4 separate regions of the Homo sapiens genome follow, and regions 1, 2 and 4 are each linked to region 3. Evidence: promoter capture Hi-C in 16 types of primary human blood cells and fetal thymus (Javierre and others, 2016). All regions are on one chromosome and are shown on one strand. Each heading gives the region's core, a stretch centred on a gene start or on the middle of the fragment in contact. The rest is flanking DNA. Distances are from core to core; before and after follow the strand shown. Region 1 overlaps NUDCD3 (NudC domain containing 3). Region 2 has its middle 12 kb from the start of DDX56. Region 3 holds the start of YKT6 (YKT6 vesicular SNARE protein). Region 4 overlaps NPC1L1 (NPC1 like intracellular cholesterol transporter 1).

Region 1 (6,208 bases), core at 1,182-3,681, 270 kb after region 3:
AATAAAAAAAAAATCAACGGACATTTTCAAAGAAATATATTTTCTGGATGAAATGGGAATTTAGTACTTCTACAACTTCACAAGCAGTATGAGGGACCAAAAGAATCATTTCCTGGCCGGGCACAGTGGCTCACGCCTGTGATCCCAGCACTTTGGGAGGCTGCGGCAGGTGGATCATCTGAGGTTAGGAGTTCGAGACCAGCCTGACCAATATGGTGAAACCCCGTCTCTACTAAAAATACAAAAATTAGCCAGGCGTGGTGGTGCACGCCTGTAGTCCCAGCTACTTGGGAGGCTGAGACAGGAGAATTGCTTGAACCCGAGAGGAAGAGGTTGCAGTGAGCCAAGATCATGCCACTGCACTCCAGCCTGGGTTAAAGAGCAAGACCCCATCTCAAAAAAAAAAAAAAAAGAAAAAGAAAACGAAGCAAGAATCGTTTCCCAAATTAACTTCCTCCAAATAACAGTCCCTCAAAGTGACAGCAGGCCAACTAGAAAGAAAAAGAGCGCCACAGTCCCATTAATTTGAGTTAAATTACGTTTTTTTCATTTCACGGCCTCTGGGTTAGAACACAATATAGCACAGACAAATCATACACCCATGTCTCAGAAAACATCAGGCAGAGAAATGTACCTTGACTAGATCAACAATTTTTTTTTTTTGGTGGAGTCTTGCTGTGTCACCCAGTGCAATGGCACAATCTCGGCTCATTGCAACCTCCACCTCTCAGACTCAAGCAATCCTCCCACCTCAGCCTCCTGAGTAACTGGGATTACAGGCATGTACCACCAAACCCAGCTAATTTTTGTATTTTTAGTAGAGACAGGGTTTCACCACATTGGCCAGGCTGGTCTCGAGCTCTTGGCCTCAAGTAATCTGCCCGCCTTGGCCTCCCAAAGGGCTAGGATTACAGGTGTGAGACACCATGCCCGGCCCACCAAATCTTTACATAAGCTTCAATTTTTTCTTATTCTATGGACCAATACCCTTTTAGAAGGAGCGTTATCCCCATTCCAGCTTTTAGATTAAGACACCCAACAATACTGGCATTTAGTACAGAATCTCAACCCTCTTTTCCTTATTCTAAATTCCCTCCTCTTACAGTGCCAAAAACAATAACCCACATCCATCCCAGGGGCCGAGCCGAGGGCAGGGCTCAGGGAAGTGGCAGGGGAGCAGAAGGGCCCAAACGAAGGTGTAAACAGAAGCTGACACATGTGCTCTGCTCCACCTCAGCAGCACCAGTTCAAACACCTATGCTTTGCTCTCCGCCCTGTGCCCTAGACCCCACACGAGCATGGGACATCCCCAGGACATTTCCAGAGAGCATTTTAAATTTCCTTAATCTTAATGTTTTTTACATGTATTTTCTAATTTTCCTCTATATTACTATAAAGAAACTTTTAGTGATTTTAAAAATCTCACAGTCATCTCACATCATTCTCCCGTAATTCCACCAGAAATGAGGCTGAGAGAATACAGACAGCCACAGCACAGTTCACACAGTAAAACATCAACACCTTAAGGCCTGTCCACATGAAGTGGGAAACTTCTGAACAGCCGTTAGAGAACACAGCAGACACCCACTGAGACTGATGTGGATGAGCAGTGTATACAGCCACTATCATCTGTGGAAAGGTTAAAACTGAAAAAGTAGAGAATGTGGGACATTAATCGTGGAGGCCATGGGCACAGGGAGAACTCTCTGCACTTCCTGCTCAATTTTGCTGTGAACCTAAAGTCAGTCTAAAAATAAACTGTATTAACCAAAAAAGAAAAAAGTAAGAAGACAGGCATAGATAAGTATGCTTGTATTTTCATAGACTATCTCCTGACCGGTACACCAGACACTGGTAACAGCAGCCACTTAGGGTAGAGTGGATAAACACAGTCACCTCACTGTGTAGAGCAGAACAGAGCCACAGACAGGGCCGTGAGTGAGAAGACCACCAAAGTTCTACTATACACCCCACCGTACTTCTCAAATTGTTTTTGATATATGCATACAGCATTTTTCAAAACACCAGTTAAAAAAAATAAAGAAAAACTTTTACGGAAAAATAGGAAGTTCCAGGGTAAAAGGGGTGCAAGAGAGTCAAATCTAAATAAAAGCTAGAGCAGCAAAATCACAGATGCTTGGCCCCAAAGATACAAAGCTGACCTCGTGAATGCATACTTTTGGGAAAGAAATGACCAGTGAACCCAGGACCATGGAAGCCTGGGTGGCACAGCCACCCAACATGAGACATCTCAGTGGTATAAGCCAGATGCTTGCTGCCAGGAGCCAGCACTGCACCAATGTAAAGCTCACAATGGCCCCTAGAAGCAGGGACAGCCACCCAGGGCCAACTTGAGAAGGAAAAAAGCTAAAAAACAAGGAAAAAGTTGAAGAATCCTCATCCCATCCCCTGAGCCACCCTAAATTGGAAAATACTCAGCAGACACAAAAAGCCTCTCAAGAGGACACTGCCAACCCACTCGGGCAAGGGATCATACCCATATGCCCTGAACACTTCTGGGGCCACCATGCCTGGTTTCCTTTCTTACTCAGAACTCAGGGAGGTATGTACATGGGGTTTATTGCTTGTTTTCCTTGGAGAGAGAAACAGTTTTCTGTTTTTCTTACTTAAGACCCAGTACAGTCAGCAGGGCCCCAAAGGCCTCAGGAAGGAGGCTGCTAGTCACCACACCAATCTGTGAAGTGCTCATCCTGCCAGCCACTCTGGTACCAGGCTCAGCCATGTGGTTCTGGGCTCAGCCATGCTGCCTTCAAAAATTAGGGGAAACAAAAGGTCTGGAAGTTTGTTCTCCTAGGAGAACTTGAGCATCCAAAGTGACATTTCTCCTGCTTTATTCAGCTTTTCACTAGGGACACTTGGATAATGCTAAGTGTTTTCTAGGTCACAGCTAGTCCTACCTACCCACTTATTGGGAAGCTCTAGCAGCAGCAGAATAGAAAGCTCTGGGTGAGCCTGCAAAGCAGGAGGCATGCTAGTGGGCAGGAGGGAGAAAGTGTGCAAACACCCCCGCTTCCCATGAATCACTAGGTCACAAAGCCCCACCGGGTGAGGGAACGTGTGACCCACTCAGACTGCTGTTTCAGACTCTGCTATGAGGGTCATGGGAAGAGAGCACTGGCCCTCCTTGGGAGAAGATTCTGGTCCAAATCTATGGTGTGGCTCAGCTATCAGCAGTGAAGATTGAGGGGCACTGACTGGTTTCTTTCCCCACATTCACCCTCACCAGCCCCCCGTGGTGAAGAAGGTTGGGTGTCACTTCCTCCAACCTCTGCAGGGCAGAGTGTGCTGCTATTACAGGGCCTGCTGAACCAGCATCTCACCCCTACTGAAGAATGGGTCAATAAAGATAGAAAAGTTATGACAGAAAAGGAGGGAAGGAAGGAGAGTCCCTTCCAATGGTCCTCACAATAATACCACCCACAGAGATCGGTGTGAAATTTTGCTTTCAGAAGTAGAATGTGCCCAGACAGAATCAGAACTGCTCATTTAACATGGGAACGGCGAAGCGCCCACTCCAAGACTTCTGCTAGTGGGTGGCCAGAAAGAAGCCATCCTCTCTCCCTTCCTGACTCAAATTGTACAACTGCTCAAAGGAAGAAAAAGAAGCCAGAGGTTCCTCTGCATCAGCCAGAGGCCAATCACCCTGATCCAGGCTGCCAAGTTAGAACCCAAGCTCCCAGATCAAGGGACAAGTCAGAGGTGGAGCTCTTTGATCAAGGGGCAGGTCAGAGATCAAGGTCCCCATTGAGGCCCGGCAGGGACGAGGCAAAAGACTGGGGCAGGCTGGCAATCTTAAACCCCATTTGCCCCAAGCCCCTAAAAAAAAAAAGTATTCCATAAATACTTGCTGAATCCAAGAACCAAACCTAGTACTTAGCTTATACTGAAAGCTTTAATTATACTATCTCATTTAATCCTTACAACAGCCCTTTAATTGTTATCACCCTATTGTATATAAGAAAAAAACTAAGACCTCAGTAAAAAAAAAAAAAAGAAAAGAAAAGGCTCTCTTCCTCGGCGCTGCCTACGGAGGTGGCAGCCATCTCCTCCTCGGCATCATGGCCGCCCTCAGACCCCTTGTGAAGCCCAAGATCGTCAAAAAGAGAACCAAGAAGTTCATCCAGCACCAGTCAGACCAATATGTCAAAATTAAGCGTAACTGGCGGAAACCCAGAGGCACTGACAACAGGGTTCGTAGAAGATTCAAGGGCCAGATCTTGATGCCCAACATTGGTTATGGGAGCAACAAAAAAACAAAGCACATGCTGCCCAGTGGCTTCCGGAAGTTCCTGGTCCACAACATCAAGGAGCTGGAAGTGCTGCTGATGTGCAACAAATCTTACTGTGCCGAGATCGCTCACAATGTTTCCTCCAAGAACCGCAAAGCCATCGTGGAAACAGCTGCCCAACTGGCCATCAGAGTCACCAACCCCAATGCCAGGCTGCGCAGCGAAGAAAATGAGTAGACAGCTCGTGTGCACGTTTTCTGTTTAAATAAATGTAAAAACTGCAAAAAAAAAAAAAAAAAAAAAGAAAAGAAAACTAAGGCCCAGGGAGACGAAAGAATTTGTTTGTTCAATGCCAGACAGCTTATCAGTGTCAGAGCTAGCAACTGAATGCCCGGTCTCTAGACTCCAAGATTCATACTCTTATTCCATAACATAATTTTTTTAAAAGGGGGAAAAAGACTAGAATCAGGAAGTAAAAAGATAAATGTAACAGTTTCAGAGATTAAAGGAGCAAACCACAAGGCAAGAGACAGGTATCCTCCTTGCTCATCCACTGGGAGAGTCTAGAAGCCTGACACCACAGCACCAACTAACACAGCAGGCCCAGCTCTTGGCTTGTAATCTCAATCTCTTATCAAAACCCAAGGACTTCTTGGAGAAAGGGTCCATTCCACAGCCAGGGCAGGAGAAGAATTCAAACCTGGAACTTCCTGTAGTGTACAAGAAAATAAAGAAGTGCTCGAAAAATGATGCAAACATGTTAACAGGAAAAGTCAACTGCAAGAGGCCACTTGAGCAATTAAACAATAGTAATGGACCATAACCTATGGAATAACTATCCATGAATACACACTGACATACACCAAGAACTAATAAATAAGTAGAGGAGAAAGAAAAGCTCTTCCTTACAGCATGTGAAACTTACAGTCCTTACAGTCCATTTGTTTTGGACTGAGCTCCTGCATAAGGCCCCAGCACACCAGACCAAACCAGAATAGAGACAATCAAAATGAACTTTAAAAAGGGCCAGTTTTCAAACAAACAAACCAAAAAAAAAAAAAAAAAAAAAAAAAACAGGAGATTTCAGTCAACTTGAGTCAGCAGGTAAGGAAGACCCCTTACCTGTTTCAACCCTATGAGGAAGTGACTTTGAAACGACCCATCTGCTTTTTGTTCTCTGTGTCTGCTTTTCTCAGCCCTTTTCTGCCTATAAAACCTACCTCCTTTGGTCAGCTCATGGGAATACTCATTCTATTTTACAGAATGAGATGTTGCCCAATTCTAGAAACACAAATGCCAACTAGATCTTTAAACTAAATTTGTTATAATTTTGTCTTTTGACAAGTATAATTCTAAATAATAAATGGAGAGAGAATGATAAAAATAGAAAATCATTTAGCAAACAGTACAGTAATAATTGTTTCAGGCAAGAATAATCAGTGGTTGCTAAGATTAATGGTAAAGGTATGCTGAGAAACAAGATATTTATCTAGTCTCAAAGTTATCTCCCCACAAGATACTTATTAATTACAAAAAGGAACACAGTAACTCCACAGTGGAAGAAATGTGCAGCCATCCATTCAGCCAAATGATCACAGTTATGATCACAATTAACATCAGAAGGAATGGGACAAATCCTGGCATGACACACTAAGGGCCCACCATGGTATTCTTCTGTGGCATTCTTGCCAAAAACATATAACACGAATACAGTCATAAGGAAGCATCAGACAAAACTATAATGAGGGACATTCCACGAAAAAAAAAAATGGCAATGAAGGAAAAAAAAAAGGACCAGTTCTCTTTAACTGTCAAGGTCATGAAAAGACTAAGAAACTGTCACTGTCCCAGATAAAGGAGACTGAAGAGAGACACAACCACGAATACAATGACAATAACAAATTGAACCCTGAGCCAAGGATAAAGGACATGATTCAACAGGCAGAATTTAAACAAGG
Region 2 (6,070 bases), core at 1,349-3,848, 360 kb after region 3:
TGATTCCCTTGCCTCAGCCTCCCGAGTAAGTAGAATTACAGGTGTGCCACCATGCCCAGCTAATTTTATATTTTTAGTAGAGACAGGGTTTCACCATGTTGGCCAGGCTGGTCTCGAACTCCTGACCTCAGGTGATCCACCCGCCTTAGCCTCCCAAAGTGCTGGGATTACAGGCGTGAGCCACTGCACCCAGCCCCTGGCTAATTTTTTTAATTTTTATTTTTAGAGATGGCATTTCACTGTGTTGCCCAGGCTGGTCTTGAACTCCTGGCCTCAAGTGATCCTCACTCTTCAGCCTCCTGAATTGCTGGGATTATAAGTGAGGGCCACCATGCCTGACTTTAGCACCACTTATCTTGACACATGAAAAAGATAAACCATTCTGTTCCCACTGTTCCTGCCATCTGGTGGTCTCTTACTTGCAGCTGTATACACTCCTAACTGATGTACCTGTAATTCCCTGCTGTCCACCACCTGACTATTAGCACCCCTTCTCCTACTGTTGCCCCACAGCAGAGTCCTCAACCTCAACACTACGGACATTTTCAACCACAGAACTCTCTTGTGGGGGCTGCCTTGTACATTGCATGATTTTAACAGTATCCCCGGCCTCTTCCCACCTAAAGCCAGTAGCATCCATTGCCCAGATATGATAACCTAAAATGTTTCTTGGCTGGCACAGTGGCTCACACCTGTAATCCCAGCACTTTGGGAGGCTGAGGCGGGCAGATCACTTGAGGTTAGGAGTTCATGACCAGCCTGGCCAACATGGTGAAACCCCATCTCCTAAAAATACAAAGATTAGCTGGGTGTGGTGGCACATGCCTGTAGTCCCAACTACTTGGCAGGCTGAGGCAGGAGAATCACTTGAACCCGGGAGGTGGATGGAGGTTGTAGTGAGCCAAGAACACACCACTGCACTCCAGCCTGGGCAACGGAGCAAGACTCTGTCTCAAAAAAAAAAAAACAACAATATTTCTATACTTTCCCAAAAGCCCCACTGGGGCAAATCTGGCCAAGAACCACCACCCTGCAGGAAGCCTGTGCTAAGCCAACTAATCTGCTCCCTCCACCCAGCTCTGCTATAACCAAGCCAAGCCTGTCTCTCAGGCTTCTCCGGGCCTTCCCAACGCCTGCGCATACAATCTCCTTGGCAGTGAGGATTTCTACCACCACCCAGGCCTGAGTGGTCTCTCCCTCCTCTGGCCATGATAGCAGGGGTTGGCTGTCTCCCTTGGCACTTGGCCTAACCATCACTGCATTCATGCATTTTGCTTCTAAAAGCTGAGGTCCTGGTTCCCGGGGCGGGGGCCATACCTCCTACACCAAGAATCCTTGAACCTATAGGGGTCCAATTTGTACATTTCGGTGATTGTATTAGGTACTTCGCTTCACGAATACAGCTGCAGTCAGGACCCGTTGCTGTCAAAGCCATAGACTCAGGACTGTGTGACCCTCCATCTCCCCACTGCTGGAACAGCCACAAGCAGTTCAGGAGCCTGGTCCCCCAGCCCACTGCTGAGGAGAAGGGCGTGTTGGTCCATGGAGGGGATGAGGCAGGCTGAATCTATAAAGGGTCGGGGGGTCCCAAGTACTTCCTGAGGGCTCCCTGAATGGGAGGATGGGCAGCTCTGCCCTGACTGTTGCTCCCAGCATCCCAGCTGCAGGTTCTGATGGAAGAGGGTCTTAGCCTGGGCAGGGCTAAGATGGTGAAGCCAGACCACTAGCAGGGGTAGCCACCAGAAATGGAGATCACATGTCAAGGCTGAGGGGAGGCAAGGTCTGGGGACTGGCCCTACATGCTTACTCTCTACTGTACAAGCATCAGTTGCTTCTCACATTCGTCCCAGCCCTGCAAGCTGATGGGTAGCCTTCATCCTGGACCCTTTGTCTTCTGTGATGGTCCCCCTCAACACAAAACTGCATTTTCTAACCTTGAACCAACAAGTTGTACAGTGAGCTGTGGGGAACAAAAGGGGCCATGAGAGGGGCCTGAAGCAGGGTCTCCCAGATGGGAGCAGGCATGGGCCCCTGCCTACTACGCCTGATACCCCTGGCCTTGACAAACATGAGACCCGTGGAGGACGAGGATGAGGGCTTCCTGTCTGAGCCCTGAGTCATGGAGGTGACACAGAGGGAGGGTCCTGCCTGCTGCACGGGGGGCACAGAGTCCAGCTCCATGCGGTGCTATTCCTACCACATCCTTCCCTCTGCTTTTAACTGGAATTAGTCCTCAAGAGCCTCAGGCAGTAGAAAGGTTGTGAAAAGAGAATTACCTCCGGGGCATTAAGGATACTCTCAGGGAAAAGCTTTTAATGAACCACTGGACTCAGGAACACACAGATATGCAACTTGGCATGGTCCTTGCCTCCGAAGAGCTCCCACATCAAGGTGGGGACAGGCCCCAGCAATTAGAGCTTCATGAGGTCAGAGCAGCATCAGACACACAGAGGAGGATGCCCAGCCCAGGCTGGCGCTCAGGAAGACTTCCTGGAGGAGGCCACGCGTGGGTCAGAGAGGTCTCACAACCTAGGGTTGCACATTTAGCAAATAAAAAGCAGGATGCCCAGCTATACTGGAATTTCAGAGAAACAGTGAATATCTGTTTTAGCATATGTCCCAAATATTGGACAGGACACGGTTATGCTGTAAAATTCCTCATTATTTGAAATTCCAATCTAGCTAGACATCTCCTACTTTACCTGGCCTCCCACGTCACCATGACTTTCGGATTAAGTGTTGGGCTCAGAGAAGGGATGTGACAGGGAAGTTTCATATCCAGGACTTGAACCTAGGTATCCCACCTCCAATTCCAGACTAGAGTCTGACAGACACAGCACCTCCCCTCTACCACTTAGCCAAGTGACATTGGGCTGGCTAGTTAATCTAAGCTTTTGCCAATCTGCAAAATAAATGTGTGTGGTGGATATTAAAGCCTTGCCTCTCAAATGTGGACTAGAGACCAGCACCTTTGGGCTCACCTGGGACGGAGGTGAGAACTCAAATGCAGAACCCCAGGCTGTGCCCTAGACGTATTCTCGTGGAAGTATGGAGACACGTCCCAGAAGGCAATGGTGGATTCAACAGGCATTGGGAGGTGCTAGCACAGAGCTGGGCTGCAACAGGCGTGCCAGGTGCCTGAGCCACTTCGGCCCCTACAGGAACCCTTGGAGGGGACATTTTACCCCCACTTACAGGTGAGAACCTAGAGAAGGCCAAGAAAAGTGACATGCCTTCCCTGTATGAGACCATACAGTCAGAAAGTGGCCATCATGGTCTGACCTGGCCACTGTGCCCACAGAGCACCTGGGACATTGAGGCGAGCCACAGCAGGATGCTGCGTGGTGGAGGCAACCCTTGGGGTGTTCGTCGGAAGACCCCCTTGATGTGCCTTGTTCTTTAGCCCACTGTTGCCACAGATACCCTCAGTGCATTCTACGCCAAACCTACTGCATCTCAGCAGGTTTGCGGATAGGCTGGAGGGATAACAAGACACTGGATGCATTGAGTTCTGAAAGCATTTCAGGATAAATAAACTAAATACTGTGCATTTGCCCAGTGTCATGCCTGGCACAGAGCAGGTCTGCTTGGCCAAGGCACCTTCCTCTCTGCAATGATGAACCACTCCTTCCCTTCCTTACCCTTGTAAACATGGCTGTGAGGAATGGAAGAGCAGCAACTCACAGCCTGTTCCACAAGGCAGGAGTCTTACATAATGATGTTCCTGGGGAAAAGGATGACAGCTGACGGGGCACCTTCCCTGCTCAAATTCAACTTTATCACCATTGCCTCTTGGGGCCCCGCCCCTGAAGTCCAAAGTCTCACAACTAATTCCCCCAAAGCTGAGTCATTCATCCTTAGCAGATGCAGGCAGAGAATCCGCTGGGCTGGGAATGCACCCTGAGCCTTTTGTGCTCCAGGTCCAGAGGTTTCTGGGCACACCACTGTCCTCCCATCTGCTATCACCAGCTATATCATCAGAATGCTGTTGGCCGGGTGTGGTGGCTCACGCCTGTAATCCCAGAACTTTGGGAGGCCGAGGCGGGTGGATTACCCGAGGTCAGGAGTTCATCCTGGCCAACATGGTGAAATCCCATCTCCACAAAGATACAAAAATTAGCCAGGCATGATGGTGGGTGCCTGTAATCCCAGCTACTCAGGAGGCTGAGGCGGGAGAATCGCTTGAACCCAGGAGGCGGAGGTTGTACTGGGCCGAGATGGCGCCACTGCACTCTAGCCTGGGTGACAGAACAAGACTCCATCTCAAAAAAAAAAAAAAAAAAAAGAAAGAAAAAAAAAAAGAATGCCCTTGTTTTCAAAAACCCTCCATCTTCTGTATCCTTTGAATTTTTAATATGTGACTATTACATTTTTTTAAAAAATCAAATTTTCAGCCCCCATTGCATATTTTGGTAACAACCCTCTGGTCTTTTCACCCTCAAATGTGCAGGGATCCCTCCCACCCCAGGGAATTTGCACATGCTGTCTCCCCTGCTAGGATTGCTGTTCCCTCCCACCCTTCCCATCTCAGCATAAACCTCACTTTCTCAAGGAAGGCAGCATTCTCTCCAACTGGGTGAGGGCCCCTTATAGCCCTCCAGTACCCTGAACTCCCAACATGACTATTGAGCAGTCTGCATTGGCTGACCATCTCTGCTCCTTGCCTCATAGACTGTGCCTTGTCCATCTGATTCCAGACCATAGCACAGTCCACACAGCCAGGCACCCATTCAGGTATACATGTGGGCAAAACTGTGCCAGCCCAGAGTGGAGAGGCCACTGCATTCTCCTGACCTTCCTGCTTCAGCCCAGGGCGTCACCAGCCTGAAAACCATCCAAGCTTCTCTGCTGTTTAGTGAAGCCTTAGGCTTCCACGCAGCATGTGCCACACCTCCTTCCTCCCTTCCAGGCCCACATGCCCTCTGTGCTGTTTGGCCCTGGACAGCCCTAGGTTCATTTGCCCATAGCACACATACCCTCATCCAAGGCCTGCCCCAGTCCTGATTTGCACATTTGTGCAAAGGGCACAGGCTTTGGCCAGACTAAGTCCAAGAGGCCAACCCTGAGTGCCTGTTTGTTCACACGTAAATGGGCACATGGTACCTGCCTCCCAGGTGGGGTGTTGAACGAGCCATTTATACTTACTTTCTCTCTGTAGTCTCAGGACACGAAGATGGACCTTCCTGTTCTTTATTTTTTAAAGATAGAGTCTCACGGCCAGGCATGGTGGCTCACGCCTGTAATCCCAGCACTTTGGGAGGCCGAGGTGGGTGGATCACCTGAGGTCAGAAGTTCAAGACCAGCCTGACCAACATGGTGAAACTCTGTCTCTACTAAAAATATAAAAAACTTAGCCAGGCGTGGTGGCGGCCACCTGTAATCCCAGCTACTCAGGAGGTTGAGGCGGGAAGAATTGCTTGAACCCAGGAGGCAGAGGTTGCAGTGAGCTGAGATTGCACCACCACACTCCAGCCTGGGCAACAAAGTGAGACTCTGTCTCAAAAAAAAAGAGAGAGAGTGTCTCAGTATGTTGCCCAGGATGGAGTGCAGTTGCGTGATCATACAGCCTCGAACTTCTGGGCTCAAGCAATCCTCCCATTCTTTCCAATGCCCTGGCCCCAGAGCGCCCACATGGTGCCTAACCCCACAGCAAAAGCCCCCGTGGTACCAGCTACTCCACCAGGGTGGACAGGCCAGAACCCAAATCTTGCAAAGAACCTCATTCACCAGGCAACTTCTAAGCCTCATCTTCCCCACCTAAAACATAGAAATAGCTTCCCCCAGGGATGCCGTTAGGAGGAAGGAATGTACACTTTGAACAAACAGCCTCCATATCTTTACCCAAGCTCCTCTGCTCCGGGCCCAGACCCTGCTATCCCCAGGCACGAATACAGCATAAGGCTGGCTCCATGTTCCTCTACCCCACCCCCCAAAGAAGGAAATCACTGGGGAAACCAATCTCCTCTCCATCAGGGTGGCTCTGGGATACAAGCTCTTGGTAGGGTGTGCTTGGAAGTGACAGGGTCAGAGAGATAAACATAGTGGAGACAGACTGTGCATCACTTTAGAA
Region 3 (6,039 bases), core at 719-3,218:
TAAATAGGGAATCCTTTCCCCATTGCTTGTTTTTGTCAGGTTTGTCAAAGATCAGATGCTTGTAGATATGCGGCATTATTTCTGAGGGCTCTGTTCTGTTCCATTGCTCTATATCTCTGTTTTGGTACCAGTAGCATGCTGTTTTGGTTACTGTAGCCTTGTAGTATAGTTAGAAGTCAGGTAGTGTGATGCCTCCAGCTTTGTTCTTTTGGCTTAGGATTGACTTGGCAATGCGGGCTCTTTTTTGGTTCCATATGAACTTTAGTTTTTTCCAATTCTGTGAAGAAAGTCATTGGTAGCTTGATAGGGATGGCATTGAATCTATAAATTACCTTGGGCAGTATGGCCATTTTCACGATACTGATTCTTCCTACCCATGAGCATGGAATGTTCTTCCATTTGTTTGTATCCTCTTTTATTTCATTGAGCAGTCGTTTGTAGTTCTCCTTGAAGAGGTCCTTCACATCCCTTGTAAGTTGGATTCCTAGGTATTTTATTCTCTTTGAAGCAATTGTGAATGGGAGTTCACTCATGATTTGGCTCTCTGTCTGTTATTGGTGTATAAGACTGCTTGTGATTTTTGCACATTGATTTTGTATCCTGAGACTTTGCTGAAGTTGCTTATCAGCTTAAGGAGATTTTGGGCTGAGACGATGGGGTTTTCTAGATATACAATCATGTCATCTGCAAACAGGGACAATTTGACTTCCTCTTTTCTTAATTGAATACCCTTTATTTCCTTCTCCTACCTGATTGCCCTGGCCAGAACTTCCAACACTATGTTGAAAAGGAGTGGTGAGAGAGGGCATCCCAGTCTTGTGCCAGTTTTCAAAGGGAATGCTTCCAGTTTTTGTCCATTCAGTATGATATTGGCTGTGGGTTTGTCATAGATAGCTCTTATTATTTTGAGATACGTCCCATCAATACCTAATTTATTGAGAGTTTTTAGCATGAGGGTTGTTGAATTTTGTCAAAGGCCTTTTCTGCATCTATTGAGATAATCATGTGGTTTTTGTCTTTGGTTCTGTTTATATGCTGGATTACGTTTACTGATTTTCGTATGTTGAACCAGCCTTGCATCCCAGGGATGAAGCCCACTTGATCATGGTGGATAAGCTTTTTGATGTGTTGCTGGATTCGGTTTGCCAGTATTTTACTGAGGATTTTTGCTTCAATGTTCATCAAGGATATTGGTCTAAAATTCTTTTTTTGTTGTGTCTCTCTCTGCCACCCTTTGGTATCAGGATGATGCTGGCCTCATAAAATGAGTTAGGGAGGATTCTCTCTTTTTCTTTTGATTGGAATAGTTTCAGAAGGAATGGTACAAGCTCCTCCTAAAATGTGGCACATATACACCATGGAATACTATGCAGCCATAAAAAATGATGAGTTCATGTCCTTTGTAGGGACATGGATGAAGCTGGAAACCATCATTCTCAGCAAACTATTGCAAGGACAAAAAACCAAACACCGCATGTTCTCACTCATAGGTGGGAATTGAACAATAAGAACACATGGACACAGGAAGGCGAACATCACACACCGGGGACTGTTGTGGGGTGGGGGGAGGGGGGAGGGATAGCATTAGGAGATATACTTAATGCTAAATGACGAGTTAATGGGTGCAGCACACCAACATGGCACATGTATACATATGTAACAAACCTGCACGTTGTGCACATGTACCCTAAAACTTAAAGTATAATAATAAAAAAAATGCTTACTTTAAAAAAAGAAAGAAAAGAAAAAAAAAAAAAAGAAGGGTTCAGGCCGCTGTGGGAGGCCCAGCACCACCCAGCACAAGACAGTACGGTATCCCGCCGCGCGCCCGACTCCACCTGGCGAGCAGGGAGGGGCCAAGCTTACGCGAGGCGTGGCATCCCGCCCCTCGCTGCATTGTACTTCCGGGCTCACATTTCTGCATCCGGAGTATGAGAACCCTCAACCAGGCTGACCGGATCCGGAAGTGGATTGCGAGCCAGGAGGAGGAAGCCGGCGGTGGCCCCGTCAGCAGCCGGCTGCTGAGAGGCCGGTAGGCGGCGGCGGTCCCGAGGGGCGGCGGCCGCGCTGCTCCCTGAGAACGGGTCCCGCAGCTGGGCAGGCGGGCGGCCTGAGGGCGCGGAGCCATGAAGCTGTACAGCCTCAGCGTCCTCTACAAAGGCGAGGCCAAGGTGGTGCTGCTCAAAGCCGCATACGATGTGTCTTCCTTCAGCTTTTTCCAGAGATCCAGGTGAGCGGCACAGGCTGGTGGGCCGTGGCGGTCGGGCGGAGAGGACTGGGGTGGGGGTCCGAGTCGGAGTGGGCCTGGGGTCGGCGGAGGGATGAGGGGAGGGTGGAGGAGGCCAAGGGTAGGGGCAGGGCGGGGTGGCCGAGTGCCCGGGGTCTGAGAAGGCTGGTGTCCGAGTCAGAGGCGGGGCGGGGTGGGGAGGGCCCGGGGTCTGCTGTCCGGGCTTGGTCTCCTATAATGGAATCTGGCCGTGGACTCTACCTTTGAGGAACCAACATTAGCTCTTTAAGAGCTTATACCATTCTAGAATATAGTTCTCTACTCAGTGTTTTTCAAATTTCTGTCGTGTAAAAATTTTAAGGAGACTGTGAAGTAGTGCAGATTTCCAAGCTTCATGCCAAGATGTTCTGAATTAGTAGATTGAGGCCTCGGTATTTATATTTTAGACCAACACTTCCCACCCAGTGATTCTGACTCTGGGAGCTTGGGTGCCGCATCTTGAGAGCCATATTTTGATTTTCTTGCGGGGCTTCCCAACAATTCTGTATGAGAGATAGTGATATACTTTTTTTTGTTTGTTTTTAATGGGTGAAGTCACTGAGGTACCAAGAGGTTATATCACAACCAGCTAGAACTGAAAGCCAGGTTTAACGCTTTTTAGTTGGACACTAGTGGTACAAAAGGATTCCACACGGAAGATGCAAATGAAGCATGGGATCTGTAGGGCTTACAGGCTTTTACTTGTTTCTGGGGCGCTTTAATTGCTGGAACGTGTTAGAAGTAACACAGACACTTCCAGACCATTCGTGGGAGGGATTGGGGTGACTCAGGCACGAAAGAAGGAGGACCCTACATGGTCGGTATCTATGGTCATCTTGTCTCAAAATCTGATGGAATCTGCCGTTTGGATTCTGTTTTCCCTGCTTCAGTGCAGCTGGTTCTTGATGAGAGTTCTTTGCCAAGGACTTGCTGGATGTAAAAAAAAAAAAATGTTATTTTGTTGAAACTTTCTGCTTCTTTGAGTTCTTTTAAAAAAATATTTTTAATTGTGGTAAAATGGTACACAAAATTTATCTTCACTATCTTTAAGCGTGTAGTGAGTGCATTGATATGAAATAGATTGATAGTGTTGTGCAGCCATCACTGTCAATCGTCTCCAGAACTCCTTTTTATCAAATTCGTGTCTATTAAACACATTCCCTTCTCCCCCAGCCCATGGCAACTGCCATTCTAATTTGTCTCTGTGATTTTGACTTTTCTGGCGACCTTAGATAAATGGAATCATATAGTTTTTGTGTGTCTGGCTTATTTCATGTAGCATAATGTCCTCAAGGCTCATGCATCTTGTTGCATATATCAGAATTTCTTTCCTTTTTAAGGCTGAATAATCCATTGTATTATTCACCACATTTTGCTTATCTGTTCATCTGTCAGTGGACACCTGGGTTGCTTCCACATTTCAGCCATTGTGAATGATACTGCTATGAACATGGATGTACAAATATCTCTTCAAGACCCTGCTCGCATTTTTTTGGTATTTACCCAGAAGCGGAATTGCTGCATTATCTTTTAGCTCCTTCTTGGGGTTCTTGGTCTTTGCAGTCTTTACCATGGCCTACATTCACTGCTCTGTGTTGTTGCTTTTCTCAGATGGAACTTTTGGTGCCAACTTGGCTCTGATTCTTTTTCCTTTTTCCTTCCCATTAGTACTTAAGATTCTCAGAGATTTCACTTGTAGGACTTATACCTCACCTGCTTGGGATGCCCACACTAGTTTCCAATGACTAACAGCTGCAACACTAAAGGGACATCTCTACTAATATGTCTTAAAACAACACATGTCCCAGCTGATTTATTTATTTATTTATTTTATTTTAGATGGAGTCTTGCTCTGTCACCCAGGCTGGAGTGCAGTGGCACAGTGTCAGCTCACTGCAACCTCCGCCTCCTGGGTTCAAGTGATTCTCCTGCCTCAGCCTCCCAAGTAGCTGGGATTACAGGCGCGCACCACCACACCCGGCTAATTTTTGTATTTTTAGTAGAGATGGGGTTTTACCATGTTAGCCAGGCTGGTCTCGAACTCCTGAGCTCAAGTGATCCGCCTGCCTTGGCCTCCCAAAGTGCTAGGATTACAGGCTTGAGCCACCACGTCCGGCCTGAGCTTGTTTTCTTATAAGACCGCTTTACTTACGTCCTTTGTGCCCTATAATTACCCGATTCCAAAGTTGAAAAAGTAGTTTCCCAGCTTTTTTGGTCTTTGTATACATGCTGTCACAATGCAGTTCTTCCTTTGTCTCTTTATAGCCGTGTCTCAAATGCTGTCTCTAGGTTTACTGCAAAGCCTTCCTTGTTTGAGGTCTTCTTTTCTGAGGGGTTATTTTGATCACTTCAGTCCCTCAAGATATTAACAAGTAATACTGTGTGTGCAGGCATTGTTCCAAGTGCTTTACACGTATTACCTCGTTTAACTGTTGCACAAATCTTGATTTTTTTAATGTGGAGGCACAGCACACAGGCCCAGAGTCAGGCCTTCAGTTACCTATATGGCTCTGCTGGAGCCTGCTGCAGACTCCCATTTGAGCACCCTGCTTTGATGGCCCTGGTTGCCCTTTATATCACATCCTCAGTTGGAGGCTCCTTGTCAGCACCTCTTCCTCTGGCTGTACCATCTCCTGTGACTGTTCTGTTCTGGATAGATCTCTCTGTTGAGCCCATGATGGACCTTCTCCCTTTCACCCTTTGTATGAGCCATTTCCCACTTCTTTGTCTTGGATGAGCAGTTTTCCTTTTGTTCCATCCAGAGTGTCTTGCGCTCGTTCTGTGGACGAGCCCCAGCAGACCTGAGCCAGCACTCACTATGGGTGTATGTGGCATTGCGAGGGTCTGTCATGTGGACACAGCCATAAATGGTTGTGCATTTCTGCCTGACAGTTTTTGCACACTATTCTTCTAGTGCAGTTCTTATAAATGTCCTGCTTCTTGGAAGTTATTGGGACCTTGAGAGCAGGACCTGCCTCTTGTTTTTCCATTGCATTCCAAATTATGCATTCACCAAAATGTAAAATTGACTGTATCCTGTGGAAAAACCCCCCAGAAAATTCACCTGTTTTGGTGAGCCAGGTAGCAAACAGATGGAGCTTTCATGGTGATGATAATTCATAATTATCAGTATTTGTGCTCATTTATAGAGTGTTTGTTACTAGGGATGGGAGGGAAAGGAATGAAACCAAGAAGCAATGTCTACTTAATGTATAAGCCCAGAGGTCACTTTCCACTGTGTTGGGGACAAGGTGATAAGAAGTAGGCAATAAATACATTTTGTGTTTCTTAGCGTTCAGGAATTCATGACCTTCACGAGTCAACTGATTGTGGAGCGCTCATCGAAAGGCACTAGAGCTTCTGTCAAAGAACAAGGTAAGAAGACCCTCCAACTTCTGTGCGTGTGCTGGCCTGGCTGCCATGCCTCACCTCACATAGCACCCAGCTTTCTCCTTTCTACTGGGACCCTACTCCTCCTCTAGCTTGTTCTCTCTTTCCCACCTCTTCCTTTTCCTATTTATGCAGAATTCTGTGCCCACTGTTGAAGTCTGAGCTTCCCAGATAAAATTGCCCTCAAACTTAGACTCATTTAAGATTAGGGTCTGACTCTTTTGGAGCAGTAAGCAGCCTTCATATCGTATTCTTCCCTATCCTCTTCAGAGTTGCAGACCCCTCAAAAAAGGATTTCCAGCTAGCACTGTTGAGGTACTATATGTATTCTGTGCATCGTAGATTTTTTGATCAGGAATCTGAAAAAACTATTTTTTCTTTCT
Region 4 (6,752 bases), core at 2,554-5,053, 320 kb after region 3:
CAAACTCCTGACCTCAAGTGATTCGCCGGCCTCGGTCTCCCAAACTGCTGGGATTACAGGTGTGAGCCACCGCACCTGGCCCAAAAAGGTTGTTTCTTGGCGACACTCTGCCTCTATTAATAATACAAAAATTAGCTGAGCATAGTGGCATGTGCCTGTAATCCCAGCTACTAGGGAGGCTGAGGCAGGAGAATTACTTGAATCCAGGAGGTAGAGGTTGCAGTGAGCCGAGATTGTGCCACTGTACTCCAGCCTGGGTGACAGAATGGCAACTGTGTCTCAAAAAAAAAAAAAAAGTTATTTCTTTATTGTGTACAGTGAGCATGTGTATCTGAAAAAGAAACAATAGTGCTACATAGGTGTGGAGAAAAAAGAAGAGAAATGTTCTTGGATACATACAATCTCAGAGCAGGGGAGGTGCCTGGAGAACTTCCCACCAGGCCTCTGACCACCTGGAGGGTAGTTCACACACAAATGCCCAGCCCAGCCCAGCAATTCGGGGTCTGCAAAGTCTTGGGTGAGGGCTGAGAACTTGCGTTTCTTCTTTTTCTTTCTTTCTTTCTTTTTCTTCCTTCCTTCCTTCCTTCTTTCTTTCTTTCTCTTTCTCTCTCTTTCTCTCTCTCTCTTTCTCCCTTTCTTTCTTTTCTTTTCTTTTCTTTCCTTTTCTTCTCTCTTCTTTTCTTTCAATATCTGGCTTTTTTGCCCAGGCTGGTCTCAGACAGACTAGACTCCTGGGCTCAAGTGATCCTCCCACCTTGGCCTCCCAACGTACTGGGATTATAGGCGTGAGCTGCAGCACCTAGCTGGAACTTCATTTTGAACAATTTCCAGGTTATGCTGATGCTGCTGGCTGGGGGACCTCATTTTGGGAAGTGCTGCTCTAGACTAACCTAGTGCACACACAAGAAGACAAAGGTCAGAGATGGTGCAGACTTGCCCCCGGTTATGGGGGCTTGGCTCTACTGTGTGCTCCTTCCAGGCCCTGCTCCTCATTCCCTGACTGACACATCCACTCCCATCTGTCCACACCAGCCCCACCACACTGGCCTCACAGAGCCTGTTGTGCTCAGCTACCAGGGCTGGGCAGGGTGCATTGCCCTTCTGGAAACATGGGAACTTCATAGCTGGAAGGGTGGGGTGAGCGAACTTGAGGCAGCTTTCAGCCAGCAGTTCAAACTATGAATTATTTCAGTACAAAGTGAGATCATCCTTCAAAAACTCCCCCACCCACCGACGACCCCCATGTCCATCTCCAGCACGAGCTCCCTTAGGGCCCCTACACCGAGCATGTCTGCACGGAGCTATGGCCAGCTCCTTTACACAGATGGCTGTCTTGTTCTGCCATCTGCTGTATAAGCTGACAGCATGTTGTGGGTCCTTTTCCTGTCAGTCCAACTGCATCTCTCTTGTTACTTTTTTCTTTCTTTTTTTTTTTGAGAGAGGGTCTCACTTTGTTGCCCAGGCTGGAGTGCAGTGTTGCGATCACAGTTCACTACAGCCTCAACCTCCCAGACTCAGGCATTCTTCCCGCCCAGCCTTCTGAATAGCTGGAACTACAGGCACACGCCACCACACCCGGGCAATTTTTTAAATTTTACTTTGTAGAGGAGGCCGGGCACAGTGGCTCATGCCTGTAATACTAGCACTTTGGGAGGCCAAGGCAGGCATATCACCTGAGGTCAGGAGTTTGAGACCAGCTTGGCCAACGTGGTGCAATTCCATCTCTGCTGAAAATACAAAAATTACCCAGACATGATGGTATGCTCCTATAGTCCCAGCTACTCAGGAGGCTGAGGCAGGAGAATCGCTTGAACCCGGAAAGTGGAGGTTGCAGTGAGCCGAGATTGCACCACTGCACTCCAGCCTGGGCAACAAAGCGAGACTCCGTCTCGAAAAAAAAAAAAGAGGGTCTCCCTACTGTTGCCTGGGCTGGTCTCAAACTCCTGGATTCAAGAGATCCTCTCGCCTTGGCCTCCTAGAGTGCTAAGATTACAGGCGCCCAGCCTCTTGTTACTTTAAATGACTGCTAGGATTGTGCTGTGCCAAGCATCCTAATTCATTTAACCAGCTGCCCTTTGGGTGTAATTTGTGCTGGTAAGAAAGGTGCTTAGCCAGGGTGTGGAGAACTCCCAAGTATGGTATCAACTGCTGAATCAATTCCACAAACTTAGCACTGACCATGGACTTGGGAGTGAGAGAAGGGGTGAAGTCTGAGATGTGGAGCTGGGAAACAAGACCCCTGCTGACAGGGCCAGCGCAGTGAGAACCTCCTGACAAAGGAGGGAGACAACATGTGACAGGCTGTTCCCTGGGGTTTTCGGGGGCCCTCCAGAGCAACCGATTTATGTCCTCCCCTCCAGGCAAGGCCATGCTTACCTAAAACCTGGCCATCTGAAGTCAAGTTCACAGAGGTGCTGTATGCTGCCAGGCCGCTGCAAGAAGGTCAGGGCAAAGGCTTAGCCAGGGACGAAGCTTCTTTCATCTGCCCAGCCCACAGCCACCCCAGAGAGGCCCCTGATAGCCTCCTCCTGCCTCTCTATATTCAACCCCATCCTGTGTCCCACATGTCTGTCCTCCCCAGCAGAAGGCCCTCCCAAGCTTACCCTTTGGGACATTTGATGTTGGGCCGGTCGTTCAGGAACCAGGGAAGATACTTATGGAACTGCTCCACCGAGGGCCTCACAGAGCCCATCGTGATGCTCATGCAGTTCTTTAGGCAGTTCAGAGAGTCTGCAGAGAAAGCAGGGGTCTGGGCAGTGACACCCCAGGGCCAGCAGCTCCTGCTTTGTGCCCCTCCTTCCCCAACAATCCCATCAAAGGTCCTGGGCACTCCAGCCTCAACCAGTCGCTTCTAGGGGGATTTGCATTTGTCATTTGTGGGAGAAGTTCTCCTCTTGGCTATAGAAACTGTGGGCACCTACAGGCAGAAGGGGAAAGGAAGTTTGGGGCAGAAAAACAGGCCCCACAAAGGCCTCTCCACCTACAAATGCCACTGCTTTGGGCGGCAGGGCCATGTGCTAACCTCAGCAGCTCTCCCCTCCTGACTCCCCACTGCCCTGCCACCCGGGAGCACCATGTGCTCTGAAAATGGGGGCACAGTACACAGCAGTATACATGTGTGATGCCCACGGGCCAGCACGGTCACCCACACAGGTGCTTCTCACAGAGTGCCTGTCCCTCAGGCCACATCTGCACCCATGCCCCCGACAGACCCTGCAGGATGCGTGGGAGAGGTTGAGGGAGCCTCTCCAGTCCTCTCCTTTCTGTTGCCTCAGTTTGCCCGAGCTGTGGTGGACAGTGAGTCCCCATGGCCCCACACTCACTGACGGTCGAGGGGCAGAACTTGTCCTTATTGGGGCCAGATATATAAAGGCGGCAGCAGGAGGACGGGGTCAGCCAGTCAATGAAGTCATCCACCCAGGAGGAGGCAGGGATGGCCAGGTAAGACCTAAGGGGCAGGTGGGAGGAAGGGTGAAAAGGCCAGCTGGGCAGGGTGGTGGGTCCTTCTCGTGGCCCAACCCCCACGCAGCCCTCCCCAGGCATACGGCAGCAAGGCAGCAGGGCAGCAGGACAGGGATAGAACATCAGGAAGAGGGGACTGGAGAGGACTGGAGGGACTCAAACAGGGAGTAGGCTGGGGTTTGGGGCGGGCCAGGAACTCACTGCTCAGGGAACTCTGTGGCATACTGGATCTTCTGGGTGAAGGAGAAGTTGTTGCAGCCTGCACTGGAGCAGATGGCATTCATCCCAGCCTCGCTGGAGAAGTTGTAGCCCAAGGTGGTAACAAAGTACACCGGGGCCCCCACCTCGAAGTAGCGGTTCAGAAAGAGGAAATAGTCAAGCAGGTACGAGTCCTAGGAGTGGAGGAGGGTCAGTGAGCTTTGGTTCGCTATGCACACCCCTAAAGGGCTCAATCCAGCTCACACTCTCGAAGGTACACACAGAGGTACATGCTAAAAGGCACATGTTCAGAGGTCCATGATCAGAGGAACACACAGAGGAACATGTTCAGAGACACACATGCAGTTACACACTCAAAGGGATGTGCTCAGTGGGACACTCAGAGATATACACGTAGATACATGCTTAGAGGTACACAGAGGTACATGCACACAAGTACACAAAATATACACAGAGATGTACATGCTCAGAGGTCACACACAAGGTACATATAGAGAAGGACATGCACAGACACACACACTCAGGGGTACCCTCAAGATGTATGTGCACTGTACAGTTACACCGGAACACAGTTTTAGGTGTACCCCCAGATGAACATACTCCAAGGTTCACAGAATAGGTATAATCACAGGTGCAAACAGAAGTACACTTATGCAGGTACAAACACAGAGCAACACCTATCACCTCACATGAACACACACTGACACACACAAACATGCACAGACACATAATTGTACCCCTTCCTATCACCCCCAATATGGCACAGCCACCGTCTAACAAGCTGGCCTGTGACAACGGCCCATATTTGTGTGCACATATAAATGTCAGTGTGCACACCCTCAAAGCCATGCACCAGGCATCCTCATGGTCTGCTCCCTTCTATAACATAAAGGCTCAGAGTGACATTAGGGAAAATGGCACAGTAGGAAGTGTCAGGAATCCCTCTCCCCAGCTAGACAACAATTTGTCTGGTATAACTATTTTGTTTTTGTTTTGTTTTGTTTTGTTTTGAGATGGATGGAGTCTTCTGGGCTGGAGTGCAGTGGCGCGATCTCTGCTCACTGCAACCTCCGCCTCCTGGGTTCAAGCGATTCTTGTGCCTCAGCCTCCTGAGTAGCTAGGATTACAGGCATGTGCCACCGCTCCCAGCTGATTTTTGTATTTTTAAAAGAGATGGGGTTTCACCATGTTGGCCAGGCTTGTCTCAAACTCCTGACCTCAAGTGATCCACCCGTCTCGGCCTCCCAAATGGCTGGGATTACAGGCATGAGCCACCACACCGGCCCTAGTGTAACGATTTTGGAACTCTGGAGTCTATTGAGGGCTGGAAGCTTCCAGGATAAGGCTTGGACAGTAAATTGTGGTTAATTTCAGGCAATCTCAGCTTTAGTACAGTAGCAGCTACCCATTTGCCACTCCCAGCCTCAAGGCATGCAGCTGTGTATGCTTTCCAGAAGCAGCTTGTACACAGCTTGCAGGAGCCAGGTAGGCAAGGACACCATCCACCAAATATCAGCTGGGCATGATGGCTTACACTTGTAATTTCAGAACTTTGGGAGGGCAAGCAGGAGGGTCACTTGAGCCCAAGAGTGGGAGACCGATCTGGGCACATAGCGACACCCTGTCTCTACAAAAAAAAATACAAAAGTTAGCTGGGTGTGGTGGCACATGCCTGTAGTCCTAGCTACTCAGGAGGCTGAAATAGGAGAATCATTTGAGCCTGGAAGTTTGCTGCTGCAGTGACCTATGATTGCACCACTGCACTTCAGCCTCAGCAAGAGAGCCAGACCCTGTCTCTAATAAATAAATAAATAAGTTCAAATATCAAGGATCTGAGTTCTGATAATTGATCATTACTTCTGATATTGGTGGTACAGATACACAGGCAGGCAGCCACTAATGCAACTCCCACCACCGTTGTTGCAACCACCTCCACATCTTACTAAAGTGACTTCCAGGAGATTTAAAGAGTAAGCACCTATCCCCGACACCTTCATTTTTCCCTTTTTCTCCTTTTGGGAACCATACATATAAGGACAAGGACATTCAAAAGCAACCATAAATATAGGGATATTTAGACAGTCACCACACTGCATAAATGCTCAGAGAAAAATGCAGTCTCAAAAATACCTGAGAAGACATTAACTCTGTGCCTTTGGCTGATCCCCAGCACAGAAACACCAACAGCAATAAATAAAATAAAGCAAGCCCTGGGAAAGAAGGAGAATCTGATCTCCAGAGCTACCACATTATAAGAATCAAATGTCCATTTTTCAACCAAAAACACACCAAGAAAAAGAAAAACATGGCCCATTCAAAGGGAAAATATTAACCAACAGAAACTGTTCCTGGGTAAGACCAGACAGCAGACTTACTAGACAAAGACTTCAAAACAATTGTCTCAGCCAGGCACAGTGGCTGATGCCTGTAATCCCACAACATCAGAAGGCCAAGGCAGGCAGATCACATGAGGCCAGGAGTTCGAGACCAGCCTGGCTAATATGGTGAAACCCTGTCTCTACTAAAAATACAAAAATTAGCCAAGCATGGTGGCAGGCACCTGTAATCCCAGCTACTTGGGAGGCTGAGGCTTAACCCCAGGAGGCAGAGGTTGCAGTGACCCGAGATCACACCATTGCACTCCAGCCTGGGTGATAGAGCAAGACTCTGTCTCAAAAAATAAATAAATAAATAATAAAATAAATGAATAAAACAATTGCCTTAAAGTTGCTCAAAGAGCTAAAAGAAAACAAAGTCAAGGAAAAATTTATGAACAAAATGGAAATATCAATGAGGAGGAAACATAAAAAAGAGCAAAAAAACTCTGGAGCTAAAAAGTACAGTAACTTAAATGAAAAATTCACTAGAGGGATTCAAAAGCAGTCAGAAGAAAGAATTAGCAAACTGAAGATAAGACCATTGAAATTACTGAGTCTGAAGAAGAGAAAGGAAAAAAAATAACGAAAGTGAACAGAGCAGAGCCTAAGGGACCTGTCAGACATCATCATCATCAAATAGACCAAAATATGAATTGTAAGAATTCCAGAAGAAAAGAGAAAGGGGAAGTGAGA

Evidence for each region. The method cuts DNA at HindIII sites, captures the fragments that hold promoters and counts their contacts. A CHiCAGO score of 5 or more calls a contact.
Region 1: a contact is called between a fragment that was not itself captured here and the fragment with the promoter of YKT6 in region 3, in 11 of 17 cell types (M1 macrophages, M0 macrophages, fetal thymus and 8 more). The highest score is 8.4, in M1 macrophages.
Region 2: a fragment that was not itself captured here is called in contact with the fragment with the promoter of YKT6 in region 3 in 9 of 17 cell types (endothelial precursors, M0 macrophages, total CD8 T cells and 6 more); the score reaches 9.7 in endothelial precursors.
Region 4: a fragment that was not itself captured here is called in contact with the fragment with the promoter of YKT6 in region 3 in 1 of 17 cell types (M1 macrophages); the score reaches 5.6 in M1 macrophages.

The regions. Positions count from the first base shown.
Region 1 is chr7:44,463,818-44,470,025 of GRCh38, forward strand. The region is part of intron 2 of NUDCD3 (NudC domain containing 3); the gene reads right to left. It also overlaps the pseudogene RPL32P18. Among named protein-coding and RNA genes, the nearest start is that of NUDCD3, 24 kb to the right of the region's middle. The HindIII fragment of the contact is 2,956 bases long and covers 954-3,909 here.
Region 2 is chr7:44,558,590-44,564,659 of GRCh38, forward strand. No RefSeq gene overlaps it. Among named protein-coding and RNA genes, the nearest start is that of DDX56, 12 kb to the right of the region's middle. RefSeq lists an enhancer at 2,768-3,662. The HindIII fragment of the contact is 582 bases long and covers 2,308-2,889 here.
Region 3 is chr7:44,199,010-44,205,048 of GRCh38, forward strand. YKT6 (YKT6 vesicular SNARE protein) reads left to right here and starts at 1,969. Exons shown (of 7, transcript NM_006555.4): 1 at 1,969-2,230; 2 at 5,559-5,641. The coding sequence starts at 2,127. RefSeq lists a silencer at 2,076-2,145. The HindIII fragment of the contact is 756 bases long and covers 1,860-2,615 here.
Region 4 is chr7:44,518,389-44,525,140 of GRCh38, forward strand. NPC1L1 (NPC1 like intracellular cholesterol transporter 1) reads right to left here. Exons shown (of 19, transcript NM_001101648.2): 11 at 3,664-3,854; 12 at 3,324-3,448; 13 at 2,604-2,730; 14 at 2,377-2,432. Among named protein-coding and RNA genes, the nearest start is that of NPC1L1, 20 kb to the right of the region's middle. The HindIII fragment of the contact is 2,414 bases long and covers 2,597-5,010 here.